Linked DNA regions of Homo sapiens: region 1 is linked to region 2. The links are contacts of gene promoters, found by promoter capture Hi-C in blood cells and fetal thymus (Javierre and others, 2016). All regions are on one chromosome and are shown on one strand. The core of a region is centred on a gene start or on the middle of the fragment in contact, and the rest is flanking DNA. Distances in the headings are between cores, read along the strand shown. Region 1 overlaps LOC124905959 (a long non-coding RNA gene). Region 2 holds the start of STK17B (serine/threonine kinase 17b).

The links. Contacts are between HindIII fragments. The CHiCAGO score rates a contact against its expected background, and 5 or more counts as called.
Region 1: a fragment that was not itself captured here is called in contact with the fragment with the promoter of STK17B in region 2 in 1 of 17 cell types (total B cells); the score reaches 5.3 in total B cells.

The regions. Positions count from the first base shown.
Region 1 is chr2:191,618,433-191,625,316 of GRCh38, reverse strand. The region is part of intron 1 of LOC124905959 (a long non-coding RNA gene); the gene reads right to left. Among named protein-coding and RNA genes, the nearest start is that of NABP1, 56 kb to the left of the region's middle. The HindIII fragment of the contact is 817 bases long and covers 3,669-4,485 here.
Region 2 is chr2:196,168,527-196,175,269 of GRCh38, reverse strand. STK17B (serine/threonine kinase 17b) reads left to right here and starts at 3,692. Exons shown (of 8, transcript NM_004226.4): 1 at 3,692-3,937. It overlaps LOC101927454 (a long non-coding RNA gene), which reads right to left and starts at 3,731. Exons shown (of 2, transcript XR_923737.2): 1 at 3,639-3,731; 2 at 2,422-3,365. RefSeq lists silencers at 3,397-3,626, 4,147-4,366. The HindIII fragment of the contact is 11,036 bases long and covers 1-3,709 here.

The sequences.
Region 1 (6,884 bases), core at 2,828-5,327, 4.6 Mb after region 2:
GATGCTGAAGTCACTTCCTGCTGCTGTTGGCACATCTGCCTGCCCCCTGCAGCTGAGCTTTTTCTGGTTGGTGATTACTCTGTACACTGGTTTGCTGCTATTTGGAGAATCAGATAAGCAGCTTGTTTACATTTGTTATGAAGAATCTGTAACATAAGAGAGGGAGCTGCAACCTCTGACCCTGATGGGACTGTATAACCCACCTTCTCCACAGACTTTGTAGGCTAGAGCTGTGCTTGGGAGCTTGGTTGTTGCTGGAAATATGGTGTCTAGATGAGGAGTTTTTAATATACTGTTATGGGCTGAATTGTGTCCCCCTCAAAATTCACATGTTGAACCCCCTATCCCCAGTATCTCAGAATATGATTGTATTTGGAGATAGGGTCTTTAAAGAGGTAGTTAAGTTAAAATGAGTCATTAGTGTAGGTCCTAATCTGATAGGACTGGTGTCCTTATGAAAAGAGATTAGGACACAGACTGGCACAGAGGGAAGACCCTGTGAAGACACAGAAAGAAGATGGCGGTCTACAAGCCAAGGAGAAAGACCACAGAAGAAACCGACCCTGCTAACACTTTGATCTTGGACTTCTATCTCCCAGGATTGTGAGAAAATAATTTTTCGTTGCTTAAGACACTCAGTCTGTGGTGCTTTGTTATGGCAGCCTGAGCTGACTAATCCACTAACCAGGCAGCTTTCACCTGTGGTGCAGTGTCCTGAGATTATGCCTGGAGTAGAGAAAAGTAAGAGTTATCCCATAGGCTCCCCTCACCAAGCCCATGTCTCAGGACAACTCTTTTATTTAACCTGTTGGTATTATTGCAAACTTTAAGGTTTTCTAGGTGTGGAGCCACCAACTCACTGATGAGAAAGGAAGAGATGACTGGACCCTGCAAGGAGACAGAGAAATGAGCTTTGATGTACACAAGAATAATGAGGAATTTAAGCAAAAAAAAAAAAAGTTTCTCCTATGGGAAGGTGGATTCTGAGCTATTAGTTAAAAGTTAAGAAAAACACCAGGAATTGTTGTTAATTCTTTCCTAAATCTATCAGTTCAATTAGCTGCTGAGACCAAAAAAAAGTCATAAATTGTGAGTTTTTATACACAAAACATTTTTTATAAAGCATAAAAGTAAATCATCAGAGTATCCTTGAACAAAAACCACAGTGAAAGATGAATGACTATGTAAAAACCCGATATGAATAATTTTAAAAAGACATCAGATAAAAAGAAAAGGCCTAGAGAGAGAATGAAAATTTGAAGGGAAAGAAGGGACTTAGAAATGAGGACAGAAGGGACCAGGAGAAAGAGAAGGAACAGAACTGCAGTTTTGGAAATTATGAGATAAAGTCTGGGTAGACAGGTGCTGTTTCCTCCAAACCTCAGAGTGCCAGGCCTGATGAAAACTTGTGAAGTTTGAAGCCTTGCTTTAGGATACATGAAAGACAATCAACCCTTGCCTAATAGGTAATAGTCAATATTCTAGTCTTCTCTCAATTATTGGCTGGACCAAAAAAAAAAATGTATATAGATTTGAAGTAGATTTGTATCAGCATATTGATGAATGGATAATATTAAAGGAAACTTAATGTTTGAGAAATTCCTAAGGAGCAGAGGCTGAATCCAGGGTAAACAAACTCACTCGCCCACCATTGATCCCAGAGCCCCTGCCTGAGATAGAACTCACATGTGTCTTCATGGGGCGCAAACCAAAGATACCCTATAAGCCTGGGTGGGGTGGGAGACACACAGGACAGAGAAGCGCTAGGTCTTTACGTATCTTCAAGGGGATTTCATTTTTTGTCTCCTTAATAGCCTTAAAATTTTCCCATCTTCTTAGAAGTGTTAGCCATTTCTAAGAATACACAAATAACAAAAGTATGTTTTTCCACTGTTCCTAAATGTTAAAGCAGAAAAATCTTAAACCAACTTGGAGCCCTTTGAAGTCAATTATTGCCTACTGAAAAGCAGTGTCCTTGTTTCCACATCATGCCTGGCAGGTGAGCTCAGACACAATCTACTGACTCCAGGACTGTTATCCCTGGACTCGGAGATGTCCTTTGCAGATTGACTCCAAAGAAAGCCAGCAGGTCCAGACTTGGTGTGGCTGAACCCCAGGCTCATGAGCTGATATGATTAACACATTATCTTCAGACGTGAGCACCTGCAAGCAAGGGGATGGGGCCTGGCAGAGCTGCTAACAAGTCAGATTCCAAAGAACCTGACAAACTGGAAAAGCAAACACAGATGAGCATGGCCAGGTGTCCATGAATTGACCATTTAACCTCACCTGAGTTTACTTCTCTGGTGACCACACTAGCAAGAACTTTAGCCATGTAACTCACCAACCTGTGAGCGCTAATTAAAGTTTGCTAAGAGCTTTATAATCAGTCCAGACAACTGCTCTGGGAATGCAGAAGTACTCATACATACATAGTGCTGCTCTTAATCTTTTGTTGTTGTTAGGATTCTTCCTGTTTTATAATAATGCTTCAGCACATAATTGGCTGCAAAGATTCTATTTTTGTTGTGGGGTAGGAAGTCCTCATTCACAATACGCACTCTTTTCCTTCTCACAGTGGTGCAATGTAAGCACCATAATGCATGTACACAGCAGGGATGATGGATAGCACTACAACATCCATCCCCTCTCCTCAAACCTCCTCTGGACAGAGGAGTCGGGTGTGAGGTGAATAGTCAAGGGTGGGCTGGAGGTGCTGTCTCTGGGCTGTCACTGAGGTGTTCTCCATGAGCACACATTGGTTGGCATGTGACTCAAACCCAGCCTTTGATTCATAAGACATTTTAGCTCTCATTCTATGACTTGAGATGTGAGTGCTAGAACAAAACAATTGACTAGAGGTGGAAGCCAGGCATTTAACATTAGGATTCATTTACTTCATAGTCTAAAGTATATGCCCTACTATCCCCAACACCCACACAGTCCCAAACACCACATCTTTTTTCTTTTTCTTTTTTTTTTGAGATGGAATTTTGCTCTTGTTGCCCAGGCTGGAGTGCAATGGCATGATCTCGGCTCACTGCAACCTCCACCTCCTGGATTCAAACGATTCTCCTGCCTCAGCCTCCCAAGTAGCTGGTATTACAGGAATGCACCACCATGCCCAGCTAATTTTGTATTTTTAGTAGAGACGGGATTTCTCCATGTTGGTCAGGCTGGTCTTGAAATCCTGACCTCAAGTGATTCACCTGCCTCGGCCTCCCAAAGTGCTGGGATTACAGATGTGAGCCACCGCATCCAGCCAACACCCCATCATTGTTTGGCCATCAGATAATTAATTCTACAAACTAGCTGAGTAGGGGCAGGGGGCCAAGAATGCAAGGAGGCTAACTTTGACCTATTCCATTCTCAAATGTAAGCTAAGTAAACACAAAATCTTTGAATCTGGAGGAAACTTACAGGTCTATCAAGTCCAAATTTCTATACAATATGAAATCTCTTCATTACGTCACCAACATATGGTCATGTACCCTTTGTCCAAATCTCTAAAGACAGTAGGTAGATTTTTTACCCTGAACCTAATGAAACGTTTCATTTGGTGCCTCTCACTGCCAAGGCCTTCTTCCAGGCCCTGTGCTAAATTTTGTATGTATCATTTACATTTTTTTCTTTAAAAGGGCCCCCAGAGTGGGGGCCCTGTATAAGCTTCTGGCCCCACAAAACCTGAGGTAGGGACAATAATACCTTTCCAAAGAGCAATGCAAAATGCTTTCTTACATTGGAATTAAATCTGCTTCTACAAGTACACCAAAAATATCAGAAACATGTTTTCGGTGATAGAGTGATATTTCTGAGATTGAGTGTATTCATTGAGTGAGTATTTAACAGGGTTATCTGAAAGTCCTACATTTAGATTTAAAAAACAGTTGCTCTCTTTCACCCCAGTACCTTCATTCAGGCTGACCCCTCTTCCTAAAAATCTCTCATCTTTATTTTGTCTGATTATCTCCTACTTTGCTTTCAGATCTCAAATCATTAGCTCCTCAAGAATGTCTTCCCTAACTTCCCTGACTAGGACAAATCTTCCTATACCTAGTGTCATCACACTATGCTTCTTCAGGGCACATACCACATTGTAACTTTTACACATATTTGCATGCTTAGATTTCTCTCTAAATAACCCACCAAGCTGAAAGATGCATGAGGCCCATTCATTACCTCCCTTTTCTCACCTCCACAAGCCCAAACTCAGCACAGAGCCTGGCACAGAGAAGACACTCAAGACATTCACAGACTGAATCAATAATGCACAACAAGGGTTAACAGCAATTGGTAAGAAAAGGTCCTCTAGATTTAGGTTAAACATAAATTTAATAAGAACTGAAAAGTCCATGTGATAAGGAATTATATTTTAGCTCATTATGAAGTACATTTTCTGATAATTATTGCTGTCCAACAGTGAAATGGGCTACCTTAAAAGTAGAGTATGACCCTCAAAGGTACATGTTTACAACTAGGAAAGCTTACAATTGGACTAAGATCAGATAGATCATTTAAGATTTGTTTCAACTAGAAATCTTGTGGCCATTGAGATATAGCTTTTGTTAATGGCACGATGATGATCTGCATATGTGTTAATATGGTACTGTGTTTAACAAGGAAGACATTAAGTAGAACAAAACAGTTTCTGTTAGAAATTTATGTTCGGTATAGATAGGAACCAACACAGAGGAGTAACTATATGTAAGAAAATAACAGCACTGGAAGGGGGAACCCAGAAGGAATCTGCAGTCTCACTGAGTACAGAAAGATCAGAGTTCAGAGCGCTTAAGGTGTTTAGGATTTGTAACCCTGAGTACCATCAAGGAGGGAGCTTCAGGGCCTGGGAAATCTACAGAGAGGTCCCTTCAGGTATTTGACTGAGTGCTAATCTGGACAAGCATGAGAGGAAACCACCCAAGGCTGGGGAAAGAACCATGAGAATGAGTAGGCAGAAAAATGTTTGGAACTTACACAAGGCTTGGACTAGTTAATTGTCCTTTCAGCCAGAATAGAAAGACCTCTTAATGCAAAGGACATCAGGTGTTGGCAAACTACAGCTCACAGGCCACACCCAGCCCACAGACTTTTTCAACAGCTCACAAGCTAAGAATGATGTGTATATTCTTGAAGGATTGAAAAAACAAAGAAATATATGCAACAGACAGTGTGTGGCCTGCAAAGCCTAAAATATTTACTATGTGTCCACTACCAAAAAAGTTTACCAATCCTCCAAATAGTCTGTAGACAGCTATCAGTTTTATTATTATTATTATTATTATTATTTCGAGAAACAGTCTCACTCTGTCACCCAGGCTGGAGCGCAGTGTCACGATCTCAGCTCACTGAAACCTCCACCTCCTAGGTTCAAGTGATTCTCATGCCTCAGCCTCCCGAGTAGCTGGGATTACAGGCACACACCACCATATCTGGCTAATTTTTGTATTTTTGGTAGAGACAGAGTTTCACCATGTTGGCCAGGCTGGTCTCAAACTCCTGACCCCAAGTGATCTGCCCACATTGGCCTCCCAAAGTGCTGGGATTACAGGGTGAGCCACTGCACCTGGCTTGTTATCAGGTTAGTAGTAGATATAAGTTAGCCCTAAGATAAAGACTGTCCTGGACCCACCCTAACAAACTTGAGAGCAATCCTCAAGAGGATTCTACTTGTAACTTAGCTAGCAATGAAACAAAAGCCTAGTACTGTTCAATGAAATACAACAAACTCCAGTTTCCTAAAATATAAAATTCATATTGGTCATTCAATAAAAAATTGCCACACATGCAAAGAATAGGAAAATATTACCCTGTATATTAATCTATTGCTGTATAACAAACTACCCCAAGAGTTTGTGACTTCAAACAATAAACATTTCTTATTTCATGTAGTTTCTGTGAGTCAAGAATCCTGGCAGAACACAGTGGGGAATCCTTGTTTCTTCTTTAAAGTGCTTGGGGGCTAAGCTGGAAGACTTGAAGTCTGGGGGCTGGAATTATCTAAAGTCTCATTTATCTATATATTTTGCATTTAGTGCTGACTGTTGGCCACATTTTGTGAGGAAAGAGTTAGCAGAGCAGGTGTGGTCATATATTCCTTGCATGGCTCCAACAGAACCTAGAACCATGATTGATCCTTTGCCAATCACTAAGAATATGGCTCTTGGATGTCAGGGACTGATGATTTTGTTGTGTACACCTGAAGCAATGGACTGTGCTATACTAGCTTTTCAGGTTGCTTTGTATAAGTATCAAGATTAATGATGTGCACCTGGCTTCATTCTTGGAGTCCTGTATTTCAGTTGCCATAGTTGGTTGCATAGCAAGATATGCTTATGTGACCAGCATACCAAAAATTCTTTGGATCCTAGGTAGAGATATTTCACAAATGTTTCTGTAAGTTGCTGCTAGAGAGAAAGTACATCCTGTGTGGCCTCTAATGAAGAAGGACTCTGAAGCCTATACTGGTCCTCTCTGGACTCCGCCCAGTAAAAATATTTATCCTGCTATTTTCGCTGTATCCTTTGCCATAATAAACTGTAGCTGTGAATATAGCCTTCTTGTGAGTCTTGTGAATCCTGACCAACCACCAAATGTGGGTGGTCAACATACATTTATTGCCTCATTGTTTCTGTAGGTCAAGAATCTGGAGTGGCTTGGCTAGGTATTGATTCGAGGTCTCTCATTATCTAGGAGTTAGGCTTGGCCAAGTCTGAAGGATCTGCATCCAAGCCCATTTATGTGGTGTTTGGCAGGAGGCATCAGCTCCTTGCTGCCTAGATTCTCCGCAGAGCTGTTTATGACATACTTTCCCTGAGAGGAAGTGATCCGAGGTGATCCAAGAAAGAGAGAGAGAGAGAGAGGCAAGGGCAGGAGCTGTGACAGAA
Region 2 (6,743 bases), core at 2,443-4,942:
TAAATACAGATCAAGTGTTTCCGATGAAAATTTGGCATCTGAATTGGGACATGCTGTAAGTATAAAATACTAGATTTAAGACAATATTAAAAAAGGAAGTAAAATGTCTCAATAATTTTTGTTGATTACATGTTGAAATGACAATGTTTTAGAAATATTGGGTTAAATAAAATAAATTGTTAAAATTAATTTTATCTGTGTTTACTTTTTAAAATATGACTAGTAGAACATTTGCCAATGTGCGTGGCATTTCTTTTGGACAGCTTTTACAGGACAGGTTATACTCTATAAACTGCAGTGAGTGGTTGGATTGGCATATTGGCCCTAGTTGATCATGGATGTTTTGGAGAGGAAAGCTGTGTCACCCTTTAAGGAAGACACTTGTACCAGTCTGAGTTATTACTCTCATCAGACAAAACTAGCCCCAATTAGCTTTGCTAATAGTGTTTCAAGAGAGTCAGGGGATGTGAGGTCTCTTAGAGTCTCTCTGGTTCTCAGTGCTTTCAAAATTGCAATGTGCTGTAGGCACCATGAGTAAATGCACTGCGACATCTCCATCTGAGTACACTCACTATTCCTACCTCCAGAGAGGGGATCTGTTTGGAGGAGCCTGTCTCCATTCAGTGAGCACCCCTGTTGGGTGGGGGGTTGAGCCACGCCCCTTCAGAGGCTGTTGGCCTTGCCTGCGTCTGGCTACCTTTAGCCTAGCCACAGGTTTCTGGTATATTCAGTTCTAGACAGGTAGTAGAGCTTGTTTTGCCTTTTCCACATGAATTCTTCAGAAGGAGGGTGTGTCAGTGGCAAGAGTTTTGAGTTTGAGGCCTTCTGCTCTGTGCAAAACCCTCCTTTTCTGCATCTACAGGGAGTAAACATGGAATCGGTGAGAATCACTTTCCTTGATCATTATGTGGTCAGTATGCGGTGACTGACTTGATGTGACTGGGGAAGGTCCCTTCCCTGGACAGAATATGGTGAGTGTCGTGCCATTACCGGAGAGGATCACCTTCCCTGGCCACATGTGGTAAGCAGTGACTGGGAACGATCATCGCTCCCAGTCAGTGTGTGATTACTAACCTGGAGTGATCCAGGAGGACCACTGTATTTGTTTGCTTGGACTGCCATAACAAATACCACAGAGCGGACAGCTTAAACAACAGACAGTTCTGGAGGCTAGAGGCTGTTGATCAAGATATCAGCAGGTCTTGTTTCTTCTGAAACCTCTCTGCTTGCTTTGCAAATGGCCACCTTCTTGTTATGTCCTCACAGGGTGGTCCCTTAGTCAGTGTTGTATGTGTCCTAATTTCTTCTTATCAGGACACCAGTCATCTTGGATCAGGGGCCACTCATATTATCTCATTTTACCTTAATTACCTCTTTAAAGGCCCTATCTCCACATACGGTCATACTCTGAGTTCCTGAGGGTTAGAATTTCAACGTATGAACTGGAAAAGAACACAACTGAGCCCATAACAACCGCCATCCCTGGTCGGAATGTGTCATTCAAGGATGGTCAACTTAATGAACTGTGTGGTCAGAAGCAATGACCACAGAATGACCATCAGGTCACCTGGAGATTTCCTACTCAAGGGAATGAGAGCAGGAACATATATCTTTGACACGGTGATGAATGAGTTTAGGTAAATGAGGTGGATGGAGGAATGTATTGACTTCTGAATTTTCCTGCAAGGCCACAGATGTACTGCCTCCTCCTCAGCACCAGGAATTCCTTGTTACTTGAACCACAGTGCCTGAGACCAAGTAAGTGTAGTTGAATGTCCTTGGGATAGTGTGGTAAGTCCTAGTTAACAAATCTGACATCAGGCACAAGGGTTAACAATCTATTTAGGGTCATAAAAGAAACACAAACTATCAGCCCTGCACCAAAGAACATAAGGCAGAGGTGATCAGGCTGGGAACAGAAAGTAGGAATCAGCAGAGTTCTGATTCCTGAAGAGGGTAACCTTCTTAAAGTCAGAAACTGATGAACAGGTATGGATGAGGAGGATGGTGATAAGCTGGAGCTAAGGCAGAAGCAGGAAAATGCAAGACATGACAATATCCCTAGGAGGCTGGCTGGTTACAGCAGAGGTATTGTGACCAAGAGGACTGGCTTACAGTGGTGCCAGAGAGAGAAAAGTCTGTGTCTAGGTGTGAAGTGATCTGGGACTGGATTAGTGACGGGGAGTATGGGGTGAGTGTGAGAAGATTGCTAAAAGCTGGCAATTGATGAAATGTTGAAATTAAGGAGGTCCAAAGTTAAACACACAACCCCAAAACCACCATAATGATGTAATCCTGTGACCCCCAAGAGGTTACTAGTTTTGGTACTGGTGCTGAGACCTCTGGAATGCAACACCTATGCTCATGAAAGAAAAGATGGGAACAGTCTCATTGCTTACGGATTCTTATACCCCAGAAAAGTTAATTCCAGTGTGTGGCATTTTATTTTCATCCTAACTTTAGGCTTCTCTAGTCAGCCCAATTGTTAGCAACAAGAAATTAGATAGATGGAAGCAATATTCTCCATTTGACAAGGTTTAGGGGCAAGACATTATTAACCTGGGAGGAGGAGTTAACCTAAGTAACAACAAACAGACTTCATAAAAGGGCTGTGATGCATTCTATACCTTTATCTTGGGGAAAATGCAGTAGGAAAGGGAAACAGCTAGCTTCACAGGAATTTGCTTGGCTTACTGGGATAGAACAAGAAAACCTGTCCTTTATATGCTAACTGAACATTAAGTCTTTTGAAAGCAAGAGGACGACTCCACTCCCAGTATCCTTTCCCACGGAAGGGTTTTCTGCAATTATCGTAAATGTCCTCTGAAAGCAATCCTAGATTACATAACTAATCCCATATATGTATGAGTATGTGTGTATCCTATACATATAAACTAGGATTATATATCTATGTAAAACATTTGTGTCTTGCACAGAACTTTGAAAATTTCCACTGTCTTCAAAGGATAACAGATCTTGAGTAGGTTGCTGAGGGCTTTCATCTTTTTCCTTAGCACTATAAATGCAAAATCGGCTATTCAGCCTATTGGGACCCTCCCTACACTGCCTTCAGTCAGTGCCTCAGAAGGGACACCATTCGCGACAGCGGACGTTAGCAGTGGGGTCTAGGTTCCATAAATCCCCAACTGATGTTGACACTCCGAGGAACCTCTGCCAAGTTGTAGCAAACTGGGTTCTCCACTTACAGGGTACGTTCCGGTCCTAAGGAAGACTCTCAAGAAGAGTCAGAAAATAGGTCTTTGGTAGGCACTGAAGTTTGGTAACTAGTCGCAGGCAGCTGGGACGAATTTTGCGGCTTCCTTCTCCCCGGTCTCCGGATATTCACACCTCTCGAACTGACCTCTCTGAAGGTGGGAAGGAGTACACAGAGCAGTAGTTCCAGCCCCGCGCGCCCCCTCTGCAGCGCCGCCCCCTCCGCCCCTCCCTCGCGGCAGCCCGAGTGCGCCCCACCTGCGCCGCCACGCCGCCGCGCCTCCCCGCCCCGCCTCGGGCCAGCCAGGCGCCGCACCCTCTCACCGCCGGGCCCCGCCCCGCACACGCGCCCCCGGCCGGTGCCCCGCCCCTCCCGTCACGTGACAGACCCACCCTCCGCACCCGTTCCGATTGGCTCTCCCGACCTAGGGGGAGGGATCTGGCGAACGGCGATGCCCCAGACGCGGCTGCAGTTTTCAAACCGCGACTGCAAGCTTCGGTAGTCCTCTCCGCTGCTGTCGCCAGGAGTCACTTCACGAGAAGCCAGGTCACAACCGTCGGCCCTTGTCTGGAAAAGTAAAAGTGGATCCTGCCACGTTCGGAGCTCCCTGGCGCCTCGCCCGGCTGGAGCTAGAGAACTCGTCCTGTGGCGGCCCCCGGCGTGGGGCGGGACAGCGGCCCCCTGGAGGGGGCAGTCCCGGGAGAACCTGCGGCGGCCGGAGCGGTTAGTGTCCTGCGGGATTGGCGGGTTGGCTCGGGGCTGCGATGGAACCAGCCGCCTCGGTACAGAGACCTCATACGTGAGGAAGGAGGACCCGAGGAGGGTTTAGGCGGTACGGTCCGGCTGAGAGGGGCTTGGACTCCGCCGCCCCTGAGGTGGCTGATTGCTGCTGGCGCCTCTCCGCTTTGCGGCTGGAGTCCGGGTTCCCTGGGGCTCCGCGCGGGGGGCGGCCGGCGGTCCTCCCACCACCCTCCTCAGCCCGGGGCGCGTGTCTGTGTCTGTGCGTGTCCGTGTGTCCCCGTGCGCCCTCCACCCGGCCGGCCCCGGCTCTCCCCAGGTCGCGCCAGGCAGGGCCCCCTTCGCGGCGGGCCCGCGCGGGTCCCTTCCACAGCAAGGCCACGCGGTCCCCCTAGCCTCTCCCGAGTCCCAGCTGCGGCGTGGGCGCGTTCCCATCGGGACTCGTGGACGCGTCCTGCTCCCAGCTGCCTTTCGTCTAGAGAAAGTTCGTGTTCATCTTGTGGGACGTTTTCAGTTACTGCTTGGGAACAGTGTTTTAAAACCAGCGAGAGATCAAGACGGGCTACAGCTGTTTCCGTGATTTTCAGCGATCTGATTTTTGCTTTGATGCCTTGTGACCCACTTAGTGTGCACGACTCATCCTCAAACTATACCACTACTGGATGCCAACGATTTTTGACATTTACCCAGGCTCTTTGTTTTATTGTAGGGAAAAGCGTTTCATTTGAATTTCCTCCGAGGGAGAAGTAGAGACAAAGTTGAAAGAGGCTTTATAGCAGCTGGTAGCTGGCATTAGTTTCTGTCTGGACTAGAGGCACTCTGACATCAATTTGGAAATTGGAATTAAGAAAATACGTTTTTAAAATCGTAATACTTATCAGATTTCACTAATATTTAAACACATGAGGACTGTGTATCACATTCACCGATTGTTTTGTCGACGTAATGTTTACATCTGTGGTGCTAATGATAAGCAGAACCTTGCCAGGGACGTTTGACGTGGTGTGGCCACTTTACGTTTTCAAGTCTATGAGAATGTCTGCGCGGAGACAGCATAGCTCTGTAGAAATGAGTGGCAGCGTATGTAACCTGGCATTTTGAACCCAGGAGCACAATTTTATTAAAGGAAAATAAACCTACTTTCTCATTGATAACACTGTTTTTTAGTTTTATGGTGAACTGTTCGGAAGTAATTTTCAACAAGTGCTTATTTTATAAATATTAGACCGTGTACCCCTAGGATTGTGTATTTTTTAAGAAAACTGGTCCATAGAAGCGGTGCAAAAGTTTTAAACTCATCTGCCTCGGATCCTCCTCCTCTGAGCAGATGCTCAATTAAACTTTTTCTAGTATCTTAATAATTGGAGGTATTAATAGATGTTTTATTTTTGAGATACATATTGTACATTTTAGATCTTTTTTTTTTTCTAAAGTAGGGATCCAAAATTGAGGTGAAATATATTTGCTTACATGGCAAGACTTTTTAAAAGTAGAATTTCTGTAATTGAAGACCATCCTTTTTTGTGTGTGAATAGAATGGTTGCGGTTTCTCTTGGGATCATTGATTAGTGAATTACGATTTGGTTAAGATAGAATGCGTTTTTAGGAAGTTGGAGGTTTGACTAATCGCTGTGTTAGCATATGAGTAACAAATTTGAAGAAGATACAAGCATTTTTATGGCTGACGTTTCTAATCAGATAATTTTATTTTTAAGCTTGCTCTGTTTTACTTTTGTTAAGTGAACATTTTAACATGTTTTAAAGCTCTTTGATAATTATAAGGGAGAATTTCCTTATGAAAATATTTTTGCTTTAATTTTAGAGACACAAGAAGTCAAGGAATTCAGTTAATAACACTTTCACTTAATCGTTAAATTGCCTTAAAATTGCATGCATAGTATATTGTAATTCACATTTTCTGTATGTAAGATTGGCAGTTAAGAATAGTATTCTGGCCGGGCGCAGTGGCTCAAGCCTGTAATCCCAGCACTTTGGGAGGCCGAGGCGGGCGGATCATAAGGTCAGGCGTTCGAGACCAATATGGTGAAACCCCGTGTCTACTAAAAATACAAAAATTAGCCGGGCATTGTGGCGCGCGCCTGTAGTCCCAGCTACTCGGGAGGCTGAGGCAGAAGAGTTGCTTGACCCGGAAGGCCGAGGTTGCAGTGAGCCGAGATCACGCCACTGCACTCCAGCCTGGGCAACAGAGGGAGACTCCGTCTCAAAAAAAAAAAAAAAAAAAAAAAAAATAGTATTCCTAGGCTTACTACTTTTAAAGGATACTGATTGATTCTTCTTTTCATAAAGAAATCTTCTGCACTGTATGGGTATTTGTTTTGTCAGAAACATTAGCAGTCATTTATCTACTACCTTTCCACTTAGGAAAACTTCAAATGTCAGTTGCTTTAGTTTTTCATAATATTGATGACAAAATTCAGTGATTTTATGTTTAAGTACTGTAGTTTGTATTCTATGCTGGGCTGTTATCAAAGGCTATTTCTTTGAATATTTCAGTTAAGAAATGTTCTTATAAAGTTACAAGCATGTATTTTTATTTAAATATGTTGTAATGTTGCAATTTTCAGGGCATACTTTATTAAGTTTTTTATTATCCTTTTTCCAGAACATTTAACCTCAAACTTCAGTGCCATTTAAAACATATATATTAGTTTCTTTTAATATTTATATGCATTGTATTTTGGTTCATCCCTGACCCTTTGCAATTACTCCAAAAGAGGGTGTAGTGATACTGTAAGCATTGAAAAATTTTAACAGTGAGATGGTAATTTCC